Regions from separate parts of the Homo sapiens genome. Here region 1 is linked to region 2. The links are contacts of gene promoters, found by promoter capture Hi-C in blood cells and fetal thymus (Javierre and others, 2016). All regions are on one chromosome and are shown on one strand. The core of a region is centred on a gene start or on the middle of the fragment in contact, and the rest is flanking DNA. Distances in the headings are between cores, read along the strand shown.

Evidence for each region. Contacts are between HindIII fragments. The CHiCAGO score rates a contact against its expected background, and 5 or more counts as called.
Region 1: a fragment that was not itself captured here is called in contact with the fragment with the promoter of MAL in region 2 in 4 of 17 cell types (activated CD4 T cells, naive CD8 T cells, naive CD4 T cells and 1 more); the score reaches 8.6 in activated CD4 T cells.

The regions. Positions count from the first base shown.
Region 1 is chr2:95,208,571-95,214,364 of GRCh38, forward strand. ZNF892 (zinc finger protein 892) reads left to right here. Exons shown (of 5, transcript NM_001395961.1): 2 at 78-166; 3 at 3,048-3,150; 4 at 3,623-3,712; 5 at 5,766-5,794. Among named protein-coding and RNA genes, the nearest start is that of ZNF892, 3.9 kb to the left of the region's middle. The HindIII fragment of the contact is 690 bases long and covers 4,161-4,850 here.
Region 2 is chr2:95,023,770-95,029,487 of GRCh38, forward strand. It overlaps MAL (mal, T cell differentiation protein (MAL blood group)), which reads left to right and starts at 1,939. Exons shown (of 4, transcript NM_002371.4): 1 at 1,939-2,116. The coding sequence starts at 2,024. It overlaps MAL-AS1 (MAL antisense RNA 1), which reads right to left and starts at 3,260. Exons shown (of 8, transcript XR_007087136.1): 1 at 2,790-3,260; 2 at 2,571-2,664; 3 at 426-488. RefSeq lists a silencer at 1,839-1,968 and an enhancer at 2,323-3,046. The HindIII fragment of the contact is 7,953 bases long and covers 1-5,433 here.

The DNA of each region.
Region 1 (5,794 bases), core at 3,256-5,755, 190 kb after region 2:
CTAGCTGGTGTGTGGCACTTCCTGCTAGTTTATTGCAAGGACAGAGTAATCATCATGGCTCCTGTCTCCACTTTTAGGATCACTTTTTGAGGACTCAGACCTTCTCCATGCTGGAAACCCAAAAGAAAATGACGTGACTGCTGTGCTGCTGACCCCTGGGTCCCAAGTAAGTTTAGATTTCTTCTTTCTTTTCCTTCTGTTCTCAGAGCAAGGATGTCTTTCCTTCCAGTGCTTATGGAATTGCTCAGCCCTGATGCTTAGACCACTGGGTTCATCCTGATAAACTGATGACTGATGACCCCAAAGGAAGTGTTCTTCAGTTGTGCAGAACTTTCTTCCCAGCGTTGCTTTCTCTCTGCCCACTGAGTGTTTGCTGCACACACATTGAGTACTGTAATTGGCCTTGGTGAGATGCAAAGAAGTAAAAGCCACTTGCTCCTGCATCGTGGAGTTTACTAAGGCAGTGAGAAATACATAAATAAAATAGTTAAACACGAAGAAATAGGTATTTTTTAAACATAGAAATCATTGGTCCAGACAAGTCATGAAAGTCTCTGAAAGAGTTTTTTTTTATCATCTGTTTGGGAGAAGTGTGGGATAAATCTGTACTTTGAAAAACAAGAGAGAGTGGGTAGTTGGAGGGTAGAATAAGGGAATATTACAAGACAGAATAGCTTTGGCCAAAAAATAAAAAAAAAGTCTTCAAATGATGAGGGAGTTGGAGGTCTTCCGAGGATGTGTGGATGTGTGAGTCACTGTGGGTTGACCTAGACTGTGGTGAGGGAAGCTCGGCTGTGTTGTACCCAGACCCCAGGACAGTCTACACTCGGTCTTATTCCAGAGGCAAATGAAGGCCTCATGAAGGTTTTTAGAGGCCCAGCAAGATGAAACATGCCATAGCTGATTGGAGAGAGAGGATTAGTAAAGATGCTTCTGTAAGATCTGGCCAAGACAGTGGGAGATTGGCAGACCCCTTGGTTCAGGTGCTGGGACTCTTTATTTCCGTCACACCAGGCCTAACAGCATACAGGTACTGATGATCCTTATAAAACCATGGGAGAAAATGCCAGTATTGATTTTGATCTGTGAATTGGTAGATCGCTTTCAGAAAGATGAGGGGAGAGAAAGTAGCACCTGCTGACAGTGTCTGATTGGCCTGCCTGTGAGTTGATTACTGAGGTTTTCTTAGGGAACTGAAGTCTGAAAGCAACTGCCTGTTAGTCTGTTAGTGTTAGCATTGTTTGTACAGAACGAAGATGGTGCATGTTATATTACTTGTGCTGATCATTCCTGAGGCATATGACCTTAAGGGGCCATAAACTTAAAAGTGTGGGATTTCTTACTTGAAGTGTTAAAGAGTGTATTTTGGGCAGAGGATTTTCAGAGTAGGTAGTTCTTTTAACTTTATGTCATTATGTGCTTTGTTTTACCAGTCATTTTTGAAAGACTGAAATATGCATTAGAAAGCTGAATATAAACAAAATTAACCGTTCGATTCATATATATATGTATATATGTATATATATGTGTGTATATGTGTGTATATATGTGTGTATATATGTGTATACATGTATATATGTATATATGTGTATATATGTATATATGTGTATATATGTATATGTGTATATATGTATATATGTGTATATATGTATATATATGTGTATATATGTATATATATATGTGTATATATATGTGTGTGTATATATATTCAAGGGGCTCTGGCCCAAGTGGTAGTTTAAAGAGCGGTAAAACTGATTCATTTGCTAACCCAAGGGATGGTTTATTTTACTCTAAGTTAAATTGTAGTTGCATAGAAATTTTAAAAATAGAATTTGAAAAATTATTAGACATTTGTCTTATCAGCACTAACAGATTCAAAAGAGCATTACCTGCCCTACTCCCTTATTTCAGTATTTTAGTAAACAAACTAAACTTTGTGTCTGTCATCTAGATGAAGGTTAGGCTAAATACTCCTGCAGTGTTTTCAATGTTTAATAGGCTTCTGTTCTCCTCCCCACTTCTGTTCCCATGCACACGTTTATAGAACACCCCATTTAAACTTGTTTCTATTAATTCTTGTTCCTTCCTTCCTTTCTTTCATTCAAATATTCAACAAATATTTACAGAGTTTCTGCTCTGTGCCAAGTACTAGGCTGCTTCAGTGAGCAAAAATAGACCTGGCCTCTGCTCCTGTGGAGCTTATGTTAGCCACAAGATCCCCTCTATGTGTGCAACCCAAGGGAATGGAAGGAACATGTGTTCTAACTAGAGAGTCAGGGAAGGCTTCCCTTGAAGTAACACCTGAGCTGAGATCTGAAGGGAGAGAAGGATTCACATTGCTGAAAGGATGGGGCAGAGGGCAGAATATTCAGGAATAGGAAGCAGGATGTGTAAAGGGGCTAACGGGAATAGGACACACACTTCAAGCAGATGAAAGAATGCCACCAACTGGGGGACGCGGGCAGATTGATCAGGGTCGTTGTGAAAAATGACAAGAACACTCTGGGAACTTTCATAATCATTTGGGCTTCAGATACTGTTTTACAAATAAGTCTATATTCTGTGACGTGTAGGAAACATCTTAATTTTTAATATATATGGGACTGATTTCATTCTTAGGAAAACTAGAGAAAAAATACTTCAATTTCTTGAACCCCATATGTTTTAAAAACTATACCATAAGGAAAATACTTAATTCATAATTACATTTTTCTCTCCTTTTTCCTGTATAAGTAGTAGCAAATTCTGTAGTTCTGTAATTTATTGATACATAAACTAAAAAGTTCATACGTTCAAGTTTTACATTGAAGGTGCTTTCCTTCCTACTTGCAGGTAATATGCATTTCTGCTGCCTGGAGGCAGAGAGTGAGTCTGTGGACTACATATTCACCAGAGAATCTTAGTACTGGAAAGGGTGGCCAAGGCCATGTTGTCTGTCCTTTTTTTATCCTTTCTGTCTTCCTCCTCCTGTGCTGTCAGTTTTATTCCTCTTCAGAGGCCTCTGTAAGGAGGCTCATTGGTGAGCACCAATGTGTTTGGTTTTTCAGGAATTGATGATCAGGGATATGGCCGAGGCTCTCACCCAGTGGAGGCAGCTGAACTCTCCTCAGGGAGATGTGCCTGAGAAGCCTAGGAATCTGGTCTTGCTGGGTAAGGATGGCTCCCCCAATGCCTGTGAATTTACCCAGTGTGGTACCTTGTCCTCCTCAGTTCCTAGGAGCTCCAAGGTCCTTATATTCAATGATTCTTAATTCTAGTAGGGCCTGAGACAGGCAATTTCTGCCTTTTGTTTCTGGATATAGTTTTAACACTCCTGGAATTAGACATAAACACCTTTATTTTATGGACTTGTAGCATCCTTCTTCTCAACTCCTTGACCAAGGATGTGGAGACAAAGTGCTAATGAAAACAACTCTTAAGAGAATGGATGCTTATTCTTTAAATAGGGGGAGGTAAAATTGATAAGGGACTCAAACCCCTATCAATCTTCCTACCTCGTGAACACTGTTGAGGAAGAAATGGAGAACTGACCTCACTCTCTCCCTCTCTTACCATGTTCCTAAAGACCAGGGAATGAACACTGAGGTCTTCACCAGACTCCTTTTTCTTTCCCTATGAATAGGGCTTCCAATTTCCACACCTGATGTAATCTCTCAGTTGGAGCATGAGGAAGAGCTGGAGAGAGAAGTCTCAAAGGCAGCCAGTCAAAAGCGTGAGTGTTGGAAACAGTGCAAGTAAAACCCAGATTGTCAATGCAAATGCTTGTGGAGGAGGAGCCTGTCCAGATTTTGCTAGACCCATGGAAAAGTTGAAGTCCCTGTCTCACCCCTATGCCACATCCTAGCTCTGTGGATGGTTATCTGTTTATAAAGTTATAATTTGATTTTTTAGAAAGTAAATACTTTCTACTCTTTCAAACCAATTCTTTTTCCCAAATAAGGTAAAATGAAACCAACATTTTAATGTTTGTTAATAACTTGCTTGGGTTCAAGGCTCTAAAGCAGGATTTTTTACATGTGTTATTTTATCTTTGCTGGATGCCATTTTTTTGAGTCTCAGATCAATGACTGTAAATTCATCTCTGGGTTTTCCCTTGCCACCTTCTCTGTCTAAGCAGAGGCAGCATAGCATGATGGTTAAGACTGCAGACTTTGGAACTAAGCTTCCTTGGTTTAAAGCTGATCTTAGCTACTCATTAGCTTTGTGACCTTTAACAAATGACTTGTGTTCTCTGTGACTTAAATTAAAATGGGGATAATGATAGCACAGAGCTTATACTGTTTTGGTGGTGATCAAAGGAAATAATCCAAGAGAAATGTTTTAAACAGTACCTGGCTATATGCTAAGCAAAGATAGCTATTAAGTCCTAGTAACTTTTTTGAAAGATGTTATGGATTTGACCCTGTTACTTCTGTCAAACTGGATTACTGCAAAAGACTGTTGGCTAATTATACTTTCTTTTACTCTTACCCTTGTAAAATTGAGGCAGCATAATACTGCTAGATTCCCCATTGAGTTGCTTACTCTGCCAGCTCTGTATTCCTCTACCTGCTTTCAAAGCCGTTGTTAGTCTGCCTAACTTTTTTGCCTTCTCTGTTCTTCAACTTGAACTCTTAACATCAGATAGGCAAGTCCCTCACTATCCTCCACTAACTGTGTGTTCATGAACATTTGGGGCTTTAATTTTTTCCACTCCCCTTAGCTGGATGTCCATTTGCTTTTAACCTATTCTACCTATTTGTCCTTTAAAATCCCAGGCACTTCCCTGAATATATCTAGTTGAGAACACTGTATTGTATTAATTTATTTCATGTAGAGACATGATTGGAATGGGTGTTAAAGACCATTTAAGCTTGGAAGTATTTAAACATTTTTAGCAATGAAGCTTTTCCCCCTCAAATTCTTACTAGGAAGCCCAGGAACTTGGGGTAGATATCTTGAGAGGTTGGGGACTCATCTGAACACATGGAGTTTTGACCTTCCCCTCCCAACACACTGCTGTTTTTCTCTTTCTTTCCTTTCTCTCTTTTTTCTTTCTTCTTGGTTCTGTTTTACTCTTTCCAGTTTGCTGGGTCTAGGGTGATGGTAAGCAATCAGAGGTGATTAGTTGCTTTCCAATTAATAAGCTTTGTGGTCATTTGAGTTTGTAGACCTGGACTATGTTGAATGCTAGCTTCTAGAATTTGTGTCTTATCTTGAGACAGTAGAACCAACAGATTTTTGTGAAAGGGAGATGGTTTTGAGCAATTAGTCTTTTAGCAGTGGTTGGGACATATTGGAGTAGGAAAAGATTGGTGGCAAGGAGATTAGCTAAAGATGGTCATTCTTGAGGCATGAAATGATAAGGCTCTGGTCAGATGGGTACAGTGAGTCTTTGGAAGACCATCTTTCTCTGATCCTATCTCCTCTAAAGGATCTATCTCCTCTAGATCCTTTTTTAAAAAAATCTGCTATTTCTCCATATCACCTCTTCTTAGTCTCATTCTGTTATTTTTTGTTATTTCCTATCCTGCTGCATAGAGGAATGTTGAGTACCTGCACACACACTCCTTTTATGCCGTCGTACTTCTTTGTCCAGTCATCTTTTTTTTCTTGTGTTCTCTCAAGATTGCAAGACTATTTTTGAGAGCTTTCAAGTTCATGTGTTCCCTGTAAATATTCCTAACAAAGAATGAAACAAACATGTTTCATTAATTTCCTACCACAGCAGTTATTTTTCTCTCAGTGTAGGAAATGATACACATGTGTGTTTTTGCTTATTTCAGACTGGGAAACAATACCAGAAAGCAAGGAG
Region 2 (5,718 bases), core at 689-3,188:
CCCTGCCGAGGGTAGAGTCTGGTCAGGAAGATGAACGTCGAGCGGAGAACTCCAGGTGGGAGGAGGGGGTCACAGAGATAGGGACAAACCCCCTTGACCCTGGCCGGGCTGCCTTCCTCATCCTCTGAAGCCTCTTTCAGAGATTGCTGCCCCTCTGCCTTATCAAAGGAGGGCTGGGACTGCTGAGCTCCACTGAGTTGCCCCTGGGAGCGAGCTTTCCCCAAAGGCTCAGGCCCAAGTAGGAATGAGTTAGCAACAAAGGCTTGAAATAAGTAGGAAATCACCAAACCAAACCACAAACAAAAGCCCTCCAGGCCAGGTAAGGACATTATTAGGAGTTGATAGGATCTTCTTGTTCTTAATTAGTATGTGCTGATAGGAAATCTCCAAGCAGCTTTCGCTGGACTGCCTGAGGGTCATCTCACCTCTCTTCAGGCTGCGGCTTCCTGTGGCCACCTTGCTTTAAGGCTTGTTCCCAGGACGGTCTCCTGGGGAGGAAGAAGATGTCCTCTCAGAGGCCAGCAGGTCCAACTAACGAGCTATGAGATGCCCAAGGTGGATGAGGACCTGGGCTCCTAAAGTCCCACAGCCCATTGTGTCCAGAGAGATGCTGCCCTGGGGACCCGACACAATGGCACCTTGGTTGCAGCCGTCCGGGCTGGCAGCTCACAGAGGCACAGTGGGGTTTTCTCATTTCAAATGCCTGGCCCCTTTCCAGAGGCACTTAGAATGGCCAGCTGATGGGCGTGCTACTTTTGCTTTGGAAAATGCGTCCACGAATATACTTCTCTCCCTAGGGACTGGGAAGGAGGAAGAATTGTGCAGCAGGGAGAGGTGAAGGCCCCACTGGAGAGAAGGGGAGCCCCTTGTCCTGCCTGCAGCAGCTGCCAATGGAAAGAAAGAAGAGTTGGGAGTCTAAGCTGGAGGTTGCGGGGCCAATTCCCTTTTGGCAGGCGAGAATCCGGACTCGGGCGGATTTCAGGCTTCAGTGTTTGTAGGAGGAAACACAGCAATCACACTATTAATAGTAAATTAAAATAAATGGGCAACTGCTGCATGGTAATACTTTTTTTTTTAAGGCAAAAAATAAAAAATAGTGAAACAGAGAAACAAAACATGAAACACCGGCAGTCAACAGGCAGGCAAAGAACCTGGGGGTGGGGGTAGCAGCGGTCCCACCCTCAAAAGGCCCGGGCTGCCCAGACCAAGAGAAAGCGATGAATCTCTTCTGGTAACGTCCCTTCCTGTCGCATGGATTCAAGGCCGACCTGCCCCAGCACCACCACCAGCAGCCTTCTGCTGGGGCCGGCACAGCTGGGAGCAACCTCCTACTCTCAGGCAGACGCGCAGCACCAAGCAGAGAGGCCCGGTGCAGGATCCCAGCGCCGAACCAGCGCCGGCTCAGTGGACGCGGAAGGGGCCGGCGGCCGCGGCCGGTCCCATCCCCCACTGCAGACCCCCAGCCTGTGGCGGTGGTCCAGTTCCGCCAGGAAACCGCCGCCTGGAGCTGTGGGTCGCGCACATTAACGCATCCAGCGGAAAAATGAAGGAGACCCAAATTCAAAGTTAAAGTAATGGTGACCCGAGAGGTGCCTTGATGAGAAGGTTTGGGGTCCCGGTTACTGATGGTTATCATTCTTACGAGATGCTGGTCACCTACGAAGGGAGAAAGGCACGAGGAGCGCCTGACCAAAGTGGTTTTGCCCTGCTTCCCGCAAGAGGTGGCACCCACGGCTGGAACGCAGGAGTCAGACCCACAGTCCCCAGCTCTGGACGCCCGCAGCGGGGCCTCGAAGAGGTTCAGGGCGGTGCCCGCGGCGCTCGGGCCGGGTCTCCCGGGGCGTGGGGCGGGGGGCGGGGTTGGGCGGCGGCCGGGGCTCCTCCCTCTTCTGCCCCGGGCTCCCCTGCTCTTAACCCGCGCGCGGGGGCGCCCAGGCCACTGGGCTCCGCGGAGCCAGCGAGAGGTCTGCGCGGAGTCTGAGCGGCGCTCGTCCCGTCCCAAGGCCGACGCCAGCACGCCGTCATGGCCCCCGCAGCGGCGACGGGGGGCAGCACCCTGCCCAGTGGCTTCTCGGTCTTCACCACCTTGCCCGACTTGCTCTTCATCTTTGAGTTTGTGAGTGGCTCCTGGCCGGGGAAGGGACGGGGTGGGCTGAGCCGTGCGCTCTCTCGGGCGCCCAGCACAGCTGTCGGACGGGATCCGCTAGCTGCGCAGGTTCTGGGAGCATCGGGGCAGCAGGCGCAGGGCGGGGACTAAGCCAGGGAAGTCCCCTCCCACCTCCGGTCCTTTGTGCCCTTCTAGACCAACAGAATGAGGGGAACAGTCTACAGGACTATGGAGGAAAAACTGGGTTCCCAACTGGGGTCAGATGTAGGCAGCGGGGCAGGGGGGGACGGCTCTTGGTTCGCTGGTCCCAAAGCTGCGCGCGGGGCCCACTTGACGCGCGCAGCGCCACCGAAGCTCCCGCCGCGCTTTGCGCGGTTGGGTAGAAGTGCGCAGCTTTTACAAGGGAGAAGGTTTCGTTAAAAAAGAAAAAAAAATCAGCAAGAGAAACATTAGTATTACCAACCGAGATTTGGAGATGAGAGGGAGCTGAATCCGGTTTATTTTCTTCTGGCCTTTTAAAGTTTCTGGCGAGGGAACGTATTTGCGACCAATTCGATCTGGAAATGAGGCCATCGTTTGCTTGGCCGCAGTCCTTCTGCCCCGTGTGCGGGGTGGGGGTGGAGGAGATGGGGGGTGGGGGGTGGGGGGTGGCGGCGAGAGCGATCCGCGCGCCTCGACTGACCTTGGGCAGGCCCGGGGCCTCTGCACCTGCGGTCGGTCCCGCCTTGCACGCACGGTCTCTGCCTGAGGCTGCAGGAAAGCGCTTCCTACTGAGAACTCCTGATAAGCGCTCACGGTGTCGCGAAGCCGAAGTGACCTCCCTCAGCCTCAACTCCCCGGGGGCCGCTGGCCTTCACCTGGGAGGGGTGTGCCCTGTATGTCCTGTGGGTGCGGTCCGTCACCGCCTGAGGGACACCTTTTCCGGCACCCCACCCTCAGAAGTGTCAGCGTGGAGAGTTGGGCGGGAAAGAAAATGTCGGAGCCTGGCTGTTTAAAAATTGGACCCCAGGTTGTTATTGCCTGATTGGAGGGGGAGGGTGTGAATACCAAAGGGAGCAGGTCAGTTCATCCAAAGAGGGCTTGCGGGCAGAGGCTAAGAGGGCTGCGGCGGCCTGGGAGCAGGGCTACCATTGAACTTAGGGTGAAAGTCCAGTCGAACCCAAACCTGGGTGGAACCGGTGACTTGAAATCCTAGGGATAGGCGGAATCAAAGCAGTTACATTTAGAAGAAACCCTGGACGCCAATGAACGCAGCCCCACCGTTTACAGAGAGCCAGCCCCCCGCTGGCCTCCTTTTAGAAGTTCAGCATACAAGAAGGAGTGCCCCTGAGAGTAGGAACAGTCCAGTTAGACGGGGCGATCTGATCTGCGGGAAAGGTGACCGGAGACTCCCACCCAACCCGCCAATGCTGCAGAAATTACAGGGGCGTGGGAAACCTTGGAACCATCTACTACTGGCAGCTTGCTCTTCCAGCGTGGCTTTGTGGCCTGCCGGTAGCGGGGCTTCCAGAAGAAACAACTCCCCCTCGCCCAGAACGCTTCTCTCAGCTGACTTAGAAAGTCACTTCTCCACCTCACCCCTGTTCCCCACCTCCCTTCCTCACTTCCCAGGAGACCCGCAATGCATAGTCATCTCCAGGCATCTTCCACATGCTCTAGATTAGGGGTGGGCTCGCAGGTGCCTGGGAGAGAAGAGGAGAAAGCTGACCCCAAGCCTCTCAGTTCTCCTCTGCATGGACTGTAAATACGAAGCTGTATATATTTGATGTGTGGAAGGAGTGGAGAATTAAAGGGCCTGAGAAGGCGCTGGCCACCCCGGGAGAGTTTTTGTTTTTGTTTTTGTTTTTGCTTTTGAGACGGAGTCTCGCTCTGTCGCCCAGGCTGGAGTGCAGTGGCGCGATCTTGGCTCACTGCAGGCTCCGCCTCCCGGGTTCACGCCATTCTCCTGCCTCAGCCTCCCAGCTACTCGAGAGGTTTTTTTAATTATGGAATATTACAACTCGACAACAAAAAGACAACCCAATTAGAAAATGGACAATGGACTTGAACAGAGGTTTCTACAAAGAAGATACACAAATGGCCAATATGCACATAAAAAGATGCTTAACATCATCAGGCATTAGGAAAACTAAATTGAAACCACAATGAGGCCAGTTGCGGTGACTCACGCCTGTAATCCCAGCACTTTGGGAGGCTGAGGTGGGTGGATCACCTGAGGTCAGGAGTTCGAGACCAGACTGACCAACATGGTGAAACCCCATCTCTACTAAAAATACAAAAAAAAAAAAAAAAAAAAAAAACCCGGCTTGGGTGGCTCATGCCTGTAGTCCCAGCTACTCAGCAGGCTAAGGCATGAGCATCGCTTGAACCTGGGAGGCAGAGGTTGCAGTAAGCCGAGATCATGCCGCTGCACTCCAGCCTGGGCAACAGAGTGAGACTCGGTCTCAAAAAAATAAATTAATAAGTAAATAAATTAAATAAATAGAAAGAAAGAAATCACAATGAGATACCACTTCACACCCATTAGGATGGCTACTATCCAAAAAACGGAAAACATCAAGTATTGGATGTGGAGAAATTGGAACCCTTGGTATGCCACTGGCGGGAATGTGAAATGGTTCAGCCACTGTGGAAAACAGTTTGGTGTTCCCTCAAAAAATTACCCTCTGACCCAGCAATTCCACTCCTGGGTATATAACCAAAGGATTCCAAGCAGGGACTTTAGTATTGGCACATGCATGTTCATAGCAGCAGTCTTCACAATAACACACAGCCCAGTGGCCATCAGCAATGAACTGAATAACAAAGTGCGACATATCCAAACAATGGATACTACCTGACCATAGAAAGGAATGAAGTACTGATACGTGCTACAAAGTTGATAAACCTTGAAAACTCTATGCTAAGCAAAAGACACAAGGCACAAAATGTCATATAGTGTATGATTCCGTTTATATAAAATACTGGAATAGATAAATCCATAGAGACAGAACACAAACCCTGGTGGTTTGCCAGGGACCAAGGGGAGCAATTGTTTAATCGCTATGTGGTTTCTTTTTGGGGGTAATGAAAATGCTTTGGAATTAGATTGAGTTGGTGGGTGCACAACACCATGAATGTACTAAATGCCACTGAACTGTCAACTTAAAATGATTGGTTTGATGATATGTGAATTTCACCTCAAGTTTAAAAAACAAAAAATAGAAATATTTCAAATGCCACAGAAGAACATATACAATACTTTAACAGACACCTACATAATTATTGCCCAACTTTGTCAAATCTTAATATTTTGCCTTGTTTGCTGTTATGTATTAAGGAAATGAAGCTTTCAGATGGCATCTAAGCCTCCTAGACATCCTTCTGTTATCTTATTCTCTCTCTCCCTCCGTCCTCAGGGCCACCTGTAGGCTGAATGTGGTGTTCACTTCCAAGCACAGGTTAGACTTTTACTGCACACATATGAACTACACATGGCATTGTTTTACATGTTTTCGCACTTTATGAAAATGCCAGCATACAGTACGTATCCTTCTGCAACATGCTTTCCAGGCAACATTATGTTCTGAGATTTATACATGTTGACTTTGTTTACCCAGTCTTCTGTTAAT